2 separate regions of the Homo sapiens genome follow, and region 2 is linked to region 1. The links are contacts of gene promoters, found by promoter capture Hi-C in blood cells and fetal thymus (Javierre and others, 2016). All regions are on one chromosome and are shown on one strand. The core of a region is centred on a gene start or on the middle of the fragment in contact, and the rest is flanking DNA. Distances in the headings are between cores, read along the strand shown.

Evidence for each region. The method cuts DNA at HindIII sites, captures the fragments that hold promoters and counts their contacts. A CHiCAGO score of 5 or more calls a contact.
Region 2: a contact is called between the fragment with the promoter of LINC01352 here and a fragment that was not itself captured in region 1, in 6 of 17 cell types (neutrophils, M0 macrophages, monocytes and 3 more). The highest score is 10.6, in neutrophils.

Annotation. Positions count from the first base shown.
Region 1 is chr1:221,391,097-221,397,869 of GRCh38, reverse strand. All of the region lies in intron 3 of LOC105372932 (a long non-coding RNA gene), which reads right to left. Among named protein-coding and RNA genes, the nearest start is that of LINC02817, 58 kb to the right of the region's middle. The HindIII fragment of the contact is 1,219 bases long and covers 2,877-4,095 here.
Region 2 is chr1:220,826,305-220,833,077 of GRCh38, reverse strand. It overlaps LINC01352 (long intergenic non-protein coding RNA 1352), which reads right to left and starts at 3,823. Exons shown (of 4, transcript NR_110797.1): 1 at 3,636-3,823; 2 at 2,171-2,385; 3 at 1,695-1,936; 4 at 649-965. HLX-AS1 (HLX antisense RNA 1) reads left to right here. Exons shown (of 3, transcript NR_046901.1): 2 at 1-60; 3 at 220-315. The HindIII fragment of the contact is 6,544 bases long and covers 2,215-6,773 here.

The sequences.
Region 1 (6,773 bases), core at 2,237-4,736:
CAGGTCAGACCTGAAGCCAGCACAGCATTAGGTCTCAGCCAAGGTCTGCTGTAACCACTTCCTGCCTGCTGTTCACTCAAGGCCCTGGGGCTCTACAATTCACTCAAGGCCCTGGGGCTCTACAATTGGCAGGTGTCAAAGTCAGCCAGGCCTGTGTCCTTCCCTTCAGGGCAGCAAGGTCCCCCCACTCGCCTCCGAGTGGGTCCAGAAGTACTGTCTGGGCGTCAGAAACTAGAGTCAAAAACCTTAGAAGTTTACCTGGTGTTTTATTTTATTGCAACTGAGCTGGCACCAAACCACAAGACACAGTCCTTCCCACTCTTCCCTTCCCTTCAAAGGCAGAAGAGCCTCACCCCACAGCCACTGCCAGCCCAGGCCACGAGGAGTTCTGCCAGACTACTGTTGATGTTCCCTTAAGACCCAAGGTTTCTTAAATCAGCTTGTCATGAATGCTACCTGGCCTGTGACTCACCCTTCAGGTCAGTGGACTTCCCTCTGGCCCAGGGCAGGACCAGAAATGCCATCTAAGAGTTAAGTCCTGGAATCAGGGACTCCAAGAGCCCATTTGGTGCTCTACTGCTCTGTGGCTATGCTGGTACCTAAGGTGCAAGACAAAGTCCCCTTTACTTTCCCGCCTGCTTTTCTCAAGCCAAAGGAATTTTTCCCCATAGCCACCACAGCTTGGAATGTGCTGAGTCTCACCTAAAGCCAGCAAGTCTCAGAGGCTCACTCAAGGCTCTCGACGTAGTACCTGAGTATCACTTCTTCTTATTCAGGGCCCAAGGGCTCTTCAGTCAGCAGATGATAAATGCTGCCAGGACTGGGTCTTTTCCTTCAAGGCAGCGGGTTTCCTTCTGGCCCAGGGTGTCTCTAGAAATGTCACCTGGGATCTAGGGCCTGGAAAAGAAGCCTCACAACTCTGACCAGTGCTCTATGCTACTGTGGCTGAATTGGTATTCTAGATGCAAAACAAAGTCCTCCCCACTCTTCCCTCTCCTCTCCTCAAGCAGAAGGAGTGGGTCTTTTTTGGAGCCTCCAGCTGTGCCACCTGGGGTTATGGGATGGATGATACCAGCACTCCCTTGGCTGCCCCAGCTGGCCTCTCAGTATGTTGTGTGCCCCCACTCCAGTCCACTGTCTGTAGGCCTGGTTCAGCACTATGAGTCATCTAAGATTGGTGGCCCTTGTGGCCTAGACTGCCTTTCAAGTTTACTTGAAGACACAGAGTGCTGTAGCCCTTGATGGTGAGGTTTGAAGGTACTCAAGTTTGAACTGCTGGGATCAGTGATTCCCTTCATCCTAGGGCTCCTTTAAATGCTCCCTTCGTGGGTGGGCATCCGCTGAGTTTGGTGAATTTGATCAGCTGTTTTTCTTTCTCCTCTAACAGGACAGTATGAGTTTAGTGCCTCACAACTGCTGTGTTCTCCCTCTCCCAGCACCTAGAGAAGCTCTCTGCATCACACCTCTGCTGCCAGGGTGGGGTAGGGGTGGCATCAGCCATTCAGGAGTGTATTTTCTATTTATTCAGCACCTCTTTCAGTGATACGAAGTCATAACCAGGTACTGTGAGTGTTCACCTGATTTTTGGTTTGTATGAAGGTGTTTTTTTCTGTGTAGATAGTTGTTAACTTGGTGTCTTTGGTGGGGATGTGGGGAGGGAAAGCAATCAGTGGAGCTTTGTATTCTACCATCTTACTCCACCTCTCCTATGTATGTTTTCTTTTGTTGCCCATGCTTTTGGTATGAGTGTGGTAAGATATGGTGGTTTTATGGGGAAGAGATGGACAAGGAGGAAGGGATATAGCATGTCAAAACACCAGGCAAATTCAAATTTTACAGTAGTCATTTTCATTTCAATATGTGCCTTAGTTTCTCTCATGGGTCATAGGGAACTGTCCATTGGTTGCCTCCCTACACAGGGGAGATCTTCTGCCTCCCGGGGCCTCTTCAGAGCTCTCTCTCTTCCCTTTCTCTCTGTCTCTCTCTGTCTCTCTGTCTCTCTGTCCCTCTCTCTCTCATTACATTCCAAAACACTTCCTTTCCTAGGCAGACAAGTTTAGCCATTTTTCTTGGAAGCCTTGACTATTGCCCACAGAGCATTCAATCCCCAGGGGCTCAGAAACTTATATTTACAAATGAAGAGAATTCCCTCCCTAAGAGAAATTGTGACGACTATTAAGATAATAAGTTTCCACATCCTTAAAGAGGACAAAATTGGGGCAAGGGAGAAGGCCAGAGAAAGACATCTTTGTTTTGGATATTGCAGCAGGATAGTAACATGCTGGAGGTCCGCAATGGCACAAAGATCACAGGAGAAGCATCCATGCCAGATTTGGAGGGTATTCTAGTCATCTGCATGGAAAAATATCTCTCCACACTTGCCACCAGAAAACAACAGCCATTTATTTGCTTACAATTCAGACAGAGCACAGTGGGGATAGCTCATCTCTACTCCGCAATTTCCAGGCATGAGCTAGGATGGCTGACCAGTAACAGCTGGCTGGGACAATTTAACAGAAGCCATATGGGTAAGTTCTCATTATTCTCTGACTTCTTTGGTTCTCCTCCATGTGGTGCTTCCTTCAGCTAGCTTGTGCTTCCTCACAATATGGTGATTCCAAGGGAGCGGAACTTATATGTCAGCTGATTTTTCAGAGATATAACATGTAACCTGCTAGTCTTCTTTAGGTTTGAGCTCAGGATTCTTAAAACATAATTCTTGTTTCATAGAAAACCACAAGAGGGGAGCAAATAGATTCTACCACTTGAGGGAGCGGGGGTTCTTCATAAAATGGAAGTAACATGGAAAAAGGCTTCAGGTAGACACTTCTGATTATAAAGGAGGAATGTCCCAGAATGGGAATCAGGAAGAAGCTTTCTTTCCAAGTTGCATCCAGTCTTCCACACTTAAATTCTTAAACTTTCATTCCTCAGTAGATACAAGACACATTCAATTCTCTTTTTGAGTCCTGAACCACCAGCAAACATCACCTTACCTGAAAGCATTGTGGCAATTGTTCTTATTCTCTCCAGTATCGTGTTGTCTCTGGTGCTGGGGACATCAGGCATTCCACTGTGGGTTCTGAAAATCTGGGGTGAGCTTTATTCATTTTGGCCTCAGCTCAGATTTTTTGGAAAAGTGTTCCTCAAGATCATGGACAGAACCAAGGGTTCCACTGTGGAAAACCTACACTGGGGATTTTCATTGTTCTCTTTAAATGTCTAAGCTGTTTCTTCAGATCTGTGACAGCTGCCAGCCAGGATGAGGGATGGAGCTCATGAGGTGGGATGTTTTTCCCTGTTTCATTGTGCTTTATTGTACATAACAAAGGATCTAGCCAGCTGCTGTGTGGAAGAGAGTAAGATGCTCAGAAAGCCCTCTTTCTTGGTCTGTTATGCGATTCTGAGAAAGGAAGCTCAGGCAAGATCAATACATCCTCCGTGTGGACGTCAAATGGCTTGTGACATTGGTTCTTCAGGGCTGTTTTTTTAAGGATATTCCAGTCTTATGAGTTTGACATGAATTTGGCTTGATGCCCTGACAGAATGCAATGTAGGCATAATTTGATCTTCCTGTAATTGTCTATTTAACTTGGCAATCCAGACTAATTTTTTCCTGTGAAGTGAGCCCAAGACGTCACTAGGACAGTGGTTGGGTTAATTAATGAGGCATAATAATGTGCATAATAAAAGTTTATGATGCGGGTTCTCTTCCCACTATTTTCCTCTCCTTCACATAGAGAATTTCTGGTCCCACTGGAATCTGTGAGTCACGGTTTGTTAAAGGAGTTTTTTCTTGTAAACAACAGTAAGGAGAAAATAATAACTTGAGAACCATCTGTTTGATTGAGTCCTTGACTTTTTTTTTTGTTACCATTTCCCCCCATTGCATGTTAAAGGAAGTAAATAGGAAAAAAAAATTCTAATTATATTACTGTTTACTGATTATTGGATAACTTTTGTTGTATTTATTTTAAATACCATTCTGATCCACACCCAAAGCCTTAATCATCTTTCTGCTTACTGCTCCTTCCTACTCTCTCTTCTTTTTCTTTTTAATATGGAACTAATTACTTTAAACACTATTCTCAAGCTTGTTCAAATCCTTACCGCTCAGTGGCACCAGGGATAGATGTGGGGATAATAGCTTTCTTTGGTATCAACAGTGACTTGGGGAAAAGAAGTGTTCTTACAAGCGCCAATGGCAACATCAGAGGACACAAGGCATAAAAGATGGCTTTAAGTCTTAGCAGTTTCACCTGGTATGGCTGAGTTTGCAGAAATCATTAAACATTCTTTTCTTATCTGAAACCGTAGATTCAACAACTTCAATTCTATAAGTAGTTAAGCACGAATAATGTATGCAGCAAGGACTGAGCTAGACCTGGACTTGATAATATGCATATTAACTTTGCCTATCATAAGGAATCAAGTGATAAGATCCAGTGAGAGAAAGTAGATGAAAGTTCTCTGTAGACTACAAAGCACTGCCTAAGTCTGAGATATTATTGACACTTTTATCACAGTAAAGCATCTGATAGTTGAATTCACCCACTTACGATTTCAGGGCCAGTTGGTTACCTTATCATCTGGAGTTCAGCAAGGAAATAATAGTGTACCAAGCAAAGCTTGATGTTTGCATTTCTATGCCTAATCCTTTCCCTGAGTGGAGAAATGGTGCCTCTATGTTAGGATCCCCCACGGATGCCATTTTGCTGCTGTCAATGAGCACATGATCTACTTCAGTTGAAAATTCCTTGACTTCACCACTCCAAAATTTTTCTAAAAACTAGTGCCATTCTTGAGCAAAGTCAAATTTTGTTGAAAACAACTTTTGTTAAAAAGAAAGCATAGGCCAGGTGCAGTGGCTCATGCCTGTAATCCCAACATTTTGGAAGGCCGAGGCGGATGGATCACGAGGTCAGGAGATTGAGACCATCCTGGCTAACACAGTGAAACTCCTTCTCTACTAAAAATACAAAAAATTAGCTGGGTGTGGTGGCACGTGCCTGTAGTCCCAGCTACTCAAGAGGCTGAGGCAGGAGAATCTCTTGAACCCAGGAGGTGGAGGTTGCAGTGAGACGAGATTGCACAACTCCACTCCAGCCTGGGCAATGGAGTGAGACTTCATTTCACAAAAAAAAAAAAAACAAAACCCTAAACACTGTGATCAACCTGGCACACTGTCACATTCCTGCTCTTGGCTCTCATTGCTACCAATGTTTGGAAGTTGAAATCTTATTAGAACAAAAGTTTTGGATCAAAATTGTGCATTCCATGTGAGTCATAGGTGATGAAGTCATAATCCAACTTCTAGCTTGCCCAACTTCTTGAAACTAGGCATATCAGGAAACAACAGTATTCATAAAAGGAAAGATTTAACCTGCCCTGCTCCTCACCCTCATCAATTAAGTCACTTTTATACATATGAATAGTAACACTATTAGCTGTTATCCTCTCATAGATCCATTTCCAATTTGGGAGGAGTTATGACAAATGTTTATATTGCTGCTTCCAAATAACCTTAGAAATACTCTCTGCACATAGTATTTGTAAATTATGGTTAATTGAAAAGAATTTATTTTGAGAATTAGTCAAGGAGTTAGAACTATCAAAGAAGAAAAAGTGGATGTCACTAAAAAATATCACCTGGAGAATGAAAAATTAGGGCTTAGTATCACTGTTCTAACTCAAAGTGCAGAGATGCTAATACACCAATAAAGACAGTGCCCATCTTCTAAAAGTTTACCATTTTAGACAACAGCAATCTGCATAAATATATGAAGGAAGTTGCTGGGGCTCCAAAAATAATACCCCAAAATGAAAGCCTCAGAAGCAAAAGTTTTTCTCTGACCTTCTCCTGCCCCCCTAACTCTCAGTCCCATTCTCTCCCAAGGTGAGAATCTGTAGAAACTAGAGAATTCTTTAGAAACTAGAAGCCCTCTTCTCTAAGGCAGGTCATAGAAACCAGAACCTCTTTTCCACAAAGCCAGCCATAAAACCTAAAAATATTGCTCTAACTTTCCCTCTATCTTTCTGCGTAAAAATTGACCATAAAGAAATTACCTGGGCTAACATTTTTGACTGTAGGTCATAAGATCCTCATTCCAGAGAGGCTTCTGCCCTATATCCAGAAGGAAGGAATGCATGCTCAGAGAGGCCAAGCAGAATCTAGACAGGCCTTGCTGGGTTTCCTCAGTCCATCTATTAGCATTACATCATACCCTTTTTTTCCATTCATATTTCTACATAGCTGTCTGCGGAATTTTGTTGAACCTAAGCATAAAAATGGACAATTTCCTCTGTATCTTTGGGTCTTCATCTAAAGGCTCCCATATATACACCTTAATCTGTATGCCTTTACTCTGATTCCTCTGCCTTTTGCAAGTTGACTTTTCAGCGAACCTTCAGAGGACGAAGGCGAACGTTCTTCCTTGGCCCCTACAAATCCAAAACTAATACAACAAGCATAGCTTAAACATTTAGGACAAATTTTGGCAGTGATGTGAGACAGGAAGAAAAAGATAGAAAGAGAGAGAGTTGGAATTGTGAACTGTTTAAGGAAATTACAGTTTGAGGCCCAGAAGGAGTCAAAGGTATATCAACTTCTAATCATTCAAAAAGGCATTTGAGGCATGATTTAATCAGTCTAGCTTTTTTTTCCCCATTGATGTCACAAAATTGGGCAAAACCATCCTGTTGGAGAAAACTTCAGTGTATAATTCAGTAGTCCAAATAAGTACTGAACACAAATTATTCAAAATAGAAGACAG
Region 2 (6,773 bases), core at 2,574-5,073, 570 kb after region 1:
CCAGATGGAGTCAGTAGGTTACTTGAGATCTCACAGTTGCAGAAGTGGACTAAAAGCCAGGTGATCTGATTCCTAAACCAATGGATTTTCCATTACACTGAGAATTCACACATGAAGTGAAGTCCTTTAAGACTTTACTTTAAGACTTTCCTTTAAGTCCTTTAAGACTTTCACCTGTTACATAAGAGTATGTTATTCATCTTGATTTTTTTTTTTTAGATGGAGTTTTGCTCTCGTTGCCCAGGCTGGAATGTAAATAGTGTGATCTCGACATACTGCAACCTCTGCCTCCCAGGTTCAAGCGATTCTCCTGCCTCAGCCTCCCGAGTAGCTGGGATTACAGGCACCTGCCACCACGCCTGGCTAACTTTTTTGTATTTTTAGTAGAGATGGGGTTTCACCACATTGGCCAGGCTGGTCTAAACTCTTAACCTCAGGTGATACACCCACCTCAGCCTCCCAAAGTGCTGGGATTACAGGCATGAGCCACCACGCCCGGGCTTTGATTTTTTTTTTTTTTTTAATGAATTAATGGCCTTGGCTTTCAGAGGTAATGCTTTTATTCCTATTTATTTCTACAGTTTGCTCCTTTAAATTACTCCTTTCTTGGTGGTGGGGAAGTTACTGGGTAGAAATAAGATAGCCTAATTTGAAACAATTAGCCTTAGCTTTTATTTTTTGATGCAAGGGTTTATAAAGCCTAAGTTGAGGAAAAGCTAGAGATGGGGCACAGAGACCTGCCCTTGCTTTCCCAACCCTGAACGACACACAGTCAGTGGGTTGTTCACTCAGTTGTCAGCCTATGTGCTTTCCTAGAGCTGCTGTGATGTGTCAAGTTGTGTACAATGCTGGGCATATGAAACTAGAGTATATGATTTCATTCTTCAGGCAGCTGAGAAGACACAACCCAATGAATCAATTTCTTGCCAGCATGTTACATGCCATAATGGAAGTATACACAGGTGCTGTGGAAGCAAAAAAGAGACACCTAGCCCAGGAGACATTGATTATATCACACTCATTCTCATTTACACATGTGTTGGGTCTTAGTTATCTATTTTACCAGCATTCTACATAATACCAGCTCATGGTAGTTGACAAATAATTGTTAAATGAAAGAATGCATAGCTAAGCATTACTGATTTTGTAAATATAGTCTAGAATGGGAAAGGACCCAGTACTTTGCTTACACCCACAGGTAACCAACCAGCAACCACAGGCCTGAATCTGATGCACCGTCTTCTGCTCGTGCCATGGTTTTTGTTTTTGTTTTTTCTTAATTGAGTCATCTTTACTTAAAAATGCTAATTTCCAGCTTCACTTGTAAGATCAGAATATCTGAAAACACTTTACACTTATTCCAAAATGACTCCAACTGGTTGGAGCTAAGTAGAACTTAGAGCCTATGATGATTAATTTTATGTGTTGATTTGACTGGGCTAAGGGGTGCCCAGATAGCTGGGAAAACAATATCTCTGGGTGTGCCTGTGAGGGCGTTTCTGGAACAGGTGTTAATCAGTAGACTGAGTAAAGAAGATCCACCCTCACCAATGTGAATAGGCATCATCCAGCCCATTGAGGGCTCAAATAAAACAAAAGGCAGAGGAAGGGTGAATTCTGTCTTCCGGAGCTGGGACATCTTCCCTTAGATATCAGAGCTCCTGGTTCTCAAGCCTTTGGACTTTGGGACTTACACCATCAGTTCTCCTTGATCTTATGCCTTTGGATTCAGACTTAATTACGTCACTGGCTTTGCTGTTTCTCCAGCTTGCAGACAGGAGGTGGTGGGTCTTCTAGGACTCCACAATTGCATGAGCCAACTCCCATAATAAATCTCTTTACATATCTATCCAATGGGTTCCATTTCTCTGGAGAATGCTGACTAACACAGATCCCCTTCGATCAAGCACGAGCCCTGAGTTGGCCATGGTCCTACCTGTCATAATGAGAGAACTCTTCTCATTTGTGTTATGGGTCCTGGAGGCATTTGATTATTGGTCTGGTCATTCACAGGAAACCCATGTAGAAACAGCAAGCATACCTAGGAAAACTAGGAGAGAATTCCCAGAGTTCTAAGGGCTTATAGAAGTGCAGTGTCAATGAATGCAGGATTGAACCAAGCTGGAGAGAGGGAGGCTGGCCTGCAGAAGAAGATATCCTTTACTGGTACCTGAATTGGCTCCTGCCAAGTTTATCTCTGCTGATGAGGAAGCTTTGCCTCTAGTTTCTCTCCTGAGAAGGGAGAGTTTCAATCAACCTTGGCTTTTCATAAAGGACTTGGGGCTGCTGGCTGAATAGCCTGTGTGTTGGGGTTCACCCATGGGGATTTTCAAGGAGGCCTGAATCTTCTGATCCATCCAATCTCTCATTTTACACTTGAAGAAACTGAGGCTGAGAAAGGGGAAGTGACTTGGCCAAGGCCACACAGCAAGGTCAAGATCCAAGACTAAAACCAATTGCTTCTCTGTTTTGCTTATTACTACAGCACAGAAATAAAGAAATAGAGAATGGGAGAGGAGAGGTAGGTGTGGGGAGGCGATATGAAAACATGGAACAAGTGCTCTGCTTTTAGAATAACTAGAACTTTGAGCCCAGAAGATTTCTTTTCTTTTAATAAATAAATGTTTTATAATCTTACTTCTGTGGCTGGTGGGAAAAAAAGTCCTTCAAGTCCCCAAGGAATGTTAGGAAAACCTCCATTAAATTCTAGTCTTCAAATCTGAGTCATAATAACTATAATAAACTCTGGGAGTGTTTCCTTAGAGTTTCTCTTTTAGGGTGGAGAGGAGGCAGCAAAAAGAATAGGCAAGTTTTCACAAGAAAAACTTGTAAATAGGCAAGTATAACAAGAAAATGTATAAACCGGGATGGCTTCATAATTAGGCATAGCCTAATTGTGCTTATGTGTCTAGTCAAGAAACTCTATCTAGAGTTCCAGGGGAAGAAGGTGTTGGGGATGAGGGAGTAGGATTGGTTTGAGGGTAGTAGACTATATAAGGCATCATGCTCCTTCCCATGGAGGGGATGTATGATGGTTAATATTAGGTGTCAACTTGATTAGATTGAAGGATGCAAACTATTGTTCCTGGATGTGTCTGTGAGGGTGTTGCCAAAGATATTAACTTTTGAGTCAGTGGACTGGGAGAGGCAGACCCACCCTCAATCTGGGCGGGCACCATCTAATCAGCTGCCAGCACAGCCAGAATAAAAGCACACAGAGGAACATGGAAGGAGTAGACTTGCTGAGTCTTCCAGCCTTCATCATTCTCTCGTGCTGGATACTTCCTGCCCTCGAACAACAGACTCCAAGTTCTTCAGCTTTTGGACTCTTGGATTTACACCAGCAGTTTGCCGGGGGCTCTGGGGCCTTCAGAAGGCTGCACTGTCAGCTTCCCTACTTTTGAGGTTTGGGGACTCGGACTGGCTTCCCTGCTCTTCGGCTTGCAGACAGCCTATTGTGGGACTTCACCTTGTGCTCATGCAAGTCAATACTACTTAATAAGCTCCCCCTCATTTATACATCTATCCTGTTAGTTCTGTCCCTCTAGAGAAACCTGACTAATATAGCATGTGTATGTGCTTTTCCCTTTGCTTGGAATGCTTGTCCCCACTCTGACCCTAAGCACCACCACAACCTTCCTTCCTGGAGCTCAGGCTGTTATCCTCCAGGGCTCTGCTGATTCCCTGGGCACCCCGCACTCTGCTTCACAGCACTCATCACATTTGTCACTTGTGTAATTTGTTGCTTATCCCAGGCTTCCGTATTACATGATAAGCTCCATTAATGACAGTGTTGTCTGCCTTGGTTTTGTTCATGATGAGCACAGTGCCTGGCCCACAGTACCAGCTCACTAAGTATTTAGCAAAGGGCTTTATGAGGTCATCCCTGGCTCCAGCACCTCACAATCTTTATGGTGACTGTTCAGAGGGCAGCTAAGCAGAAAAGAAGTTTTCAACAAGGCTGTTTCTGGCCTGTTTTCCCTCTCAGTACTACATGGCAAGTCACGTCTCCAAACTGAGGAGTGTGCCTGAAGAGTCAGGTCTGGCAGAGAAAGGATTTCTTGCCCTAGGTTTAAACAAGCAATGTCAACATAACTTCCAAAGGCATCGGCTGCTTGGAAGAAGTGAATCCCTTGGGTCATTCCCTTGATTATTGTGAACCCGTGGCTGAGCAGGACAGAAATGTCACACAGGTGGACTGAGAACAAAATGATTTCAGATATGGGAGCCCCAAAGTGGCATCCCAAGGACAAGTGCTCAGAATTGCATGACTTGGTTTTCTGTTGAGCTATTCTGTCTTGGATAATTACAGCATGAGCTCTTGGCCAGTGGTGGGAATTAATTGGTTTTAATTCTCCCGCAAAGATTCTCTTAAGTAAAAGTAAAACATTTGCAAACTGGAGTTCTTTGAGTTATTGGTAACAACTTACTTTGCACCTCATAGCACACTGGTTAATAGCCTCCGCCAAATAACTAATATTTAGGCACTTTGCTAATGTATGCAAAGTGCTTTTAAGTATTATGCTATTAAATCTTCACAACATCACAGGTAGGTATTAGCACCATCTTACCTATTTTATGGATATCCAAACAGAGGTCTTCAAAAGTTAGAAAATCTGCACAGTCACAGAGCCAGTGGAGCCACAGCTGAGGCATGGACAGGCTGCTCTCCTACCACCTGCCAGGCCGCTCTTGCCCAGCTCATGAGGTCCAAAGTTTTCTCAACAAACTGCTTGGTGTCGATGTTGTAACCTGGAGCATTGCCCTGCAGCAGAAAGGCAGGCCTGGACATTCGCATGTCAGCATGGGGCGAAGCTGATAATTTCCAGTTGGGATCCAAGAAAAAGAAAAGCTCTCCACATGCCAACAACATTGTTATGAAGCTCTCTTGACCCAGCTACCCAACAGTGATCTCAAACATTTGGTCTCTCCAGTGTGTGTATGGGGGTGGGGGGCAGCTGGGCGTGTAGCCTTGTACACTTTGCACTTGGAGAGGTAGGGACAGGGGTCTAAATTAAGGGAAACCCTGCCCAGGGGCTGGCTTTGGGAAGCATGCCCAGCAGCCATGTGGAAGTTCACTGCATTACGGTGAATTACACCAGGTGGGGTGAGTACAGGACAAGGAAGTAGAAGTCAGAGCCTGCTTTTCAAAATCACCCTGCAGGCTGTTGTCCCCAGAAGAAGAGATCAACCTCAGGGGAGACCAGAGTCCTAAACACAAAACAAAAGAGTAATAAGGGAGGAAGCAAATGAAGTTGCTTATCTCATTTATTTATTTTTCTCTCCCATTTCCGCCTATGCTCCTCCAACTGAACCCCCCCTAGTCTCTGGTTTCCTGGCCACTATCTGGCCAATAACCTCCACATTAGCATCCCCAGCCCCTCTGTGCCCCCTGTAATCTCTTCTCCAGGCTTTGCTGAGGACTGTATTTACTGCCACACAGGATTTCCGTAGGTGATAACAGCAGGGCCTGGTTGGCTTGACCCTCTGTTCAGAGCCAACCCTTGGCTTCTTATGGTGTCCTCTTACAGCAAGGGAAGAATCTTAGTTTCTCCCAAGAATGTGACTCTCTTTAAGTGTCTTACCTACACTCAACAACTAAGCAAGCCTCTTGATGAGCAGCCCTTCACTCTCACATCCTCAACACTGTGGACTGAGAATTTACATTTTTTTAAAAAGGCAGGGCACAGTGGCTCATGCCTGTAATCCCAGCACTTTGGGAGGCTGAGATGGGAGAATCGTTTGAGGCCACAAGTTTGAGACCAGCCTGGCCAACACAGGGAGACTCCATCTCTACAAAAAAATTTTTAAAAATTAGCCAGGCATGTGCTACTTGGGAGGCTGAGGCGGGAGGATTGCTTGAGCCCAGGAGATCGAGGCTACAGTGAGCTGTGATCACACCACTGCACTGCAGCAGCGTGGGTGACAGAGCAGGACCCTGTCTCTAAAAAAAAGTAAAAGATAAATGTAAAATCAGGTCTGTTCTGCTCTGTATGTGTATGGGTGCCCCACATGGAGAGCCAAGAGACATAAGAGGTGCTGAGGGGAATTTTCCAAGGCGGGTCACCCACTTACAAATCTCTAATCTGGGGACTGGATTGTGGGACGGACCTGCAGAACCCACCCCTCCAGGACTCTGACAGGCATCGTCAATCCAGGTCCCCACAGGAAGGGGACCCTTGATGGCCATTCTCATAGAACATGTCCCCACCCTACCACATTCGCTCACCACAGGCTGCTAGCTTTTCACTCAGAAACATATGTGCCTTACAGGGTGATGTGTTCTGTTTTTTAACTTCCTACTAATGTGTAATGCACATTCAGACAAGTACACAAGTCGCAAGCTCAATACATTTTCACAAAGTGGACAGACTTGGGTCATCAGCACCAGATCAATAACAGAGTATTTCCCATGGCCAGAATCTCTTGTCTGCACCTGGCCCCATCACCGCCCACCTCCTTCCCACCCAGTGTAACCACTGTCCCGACTTTGAGCACCACACATCAGGCTTGCCTCCCAGGGGTCACTCTTTAGAAGCTGATTCCAGAGATGCACAGAAGACTTTACTTTTTCTTCATCAGCAATGCCTGAGGCTGGGGAGGCTTGTGGAGCCTGATCTGGGTGTTCTGTGTTACTTTTAACTGTCAAGATCCCTAACACCTTAACACCACGTAAACCAGAGGAATCATAGGGACAGGATTATCTCAGAGAGAAACACAGCGGTGGGCAGCCGGCCAAGTGTGGAGGAAAGTGAGATGAGATCAACAAGAAG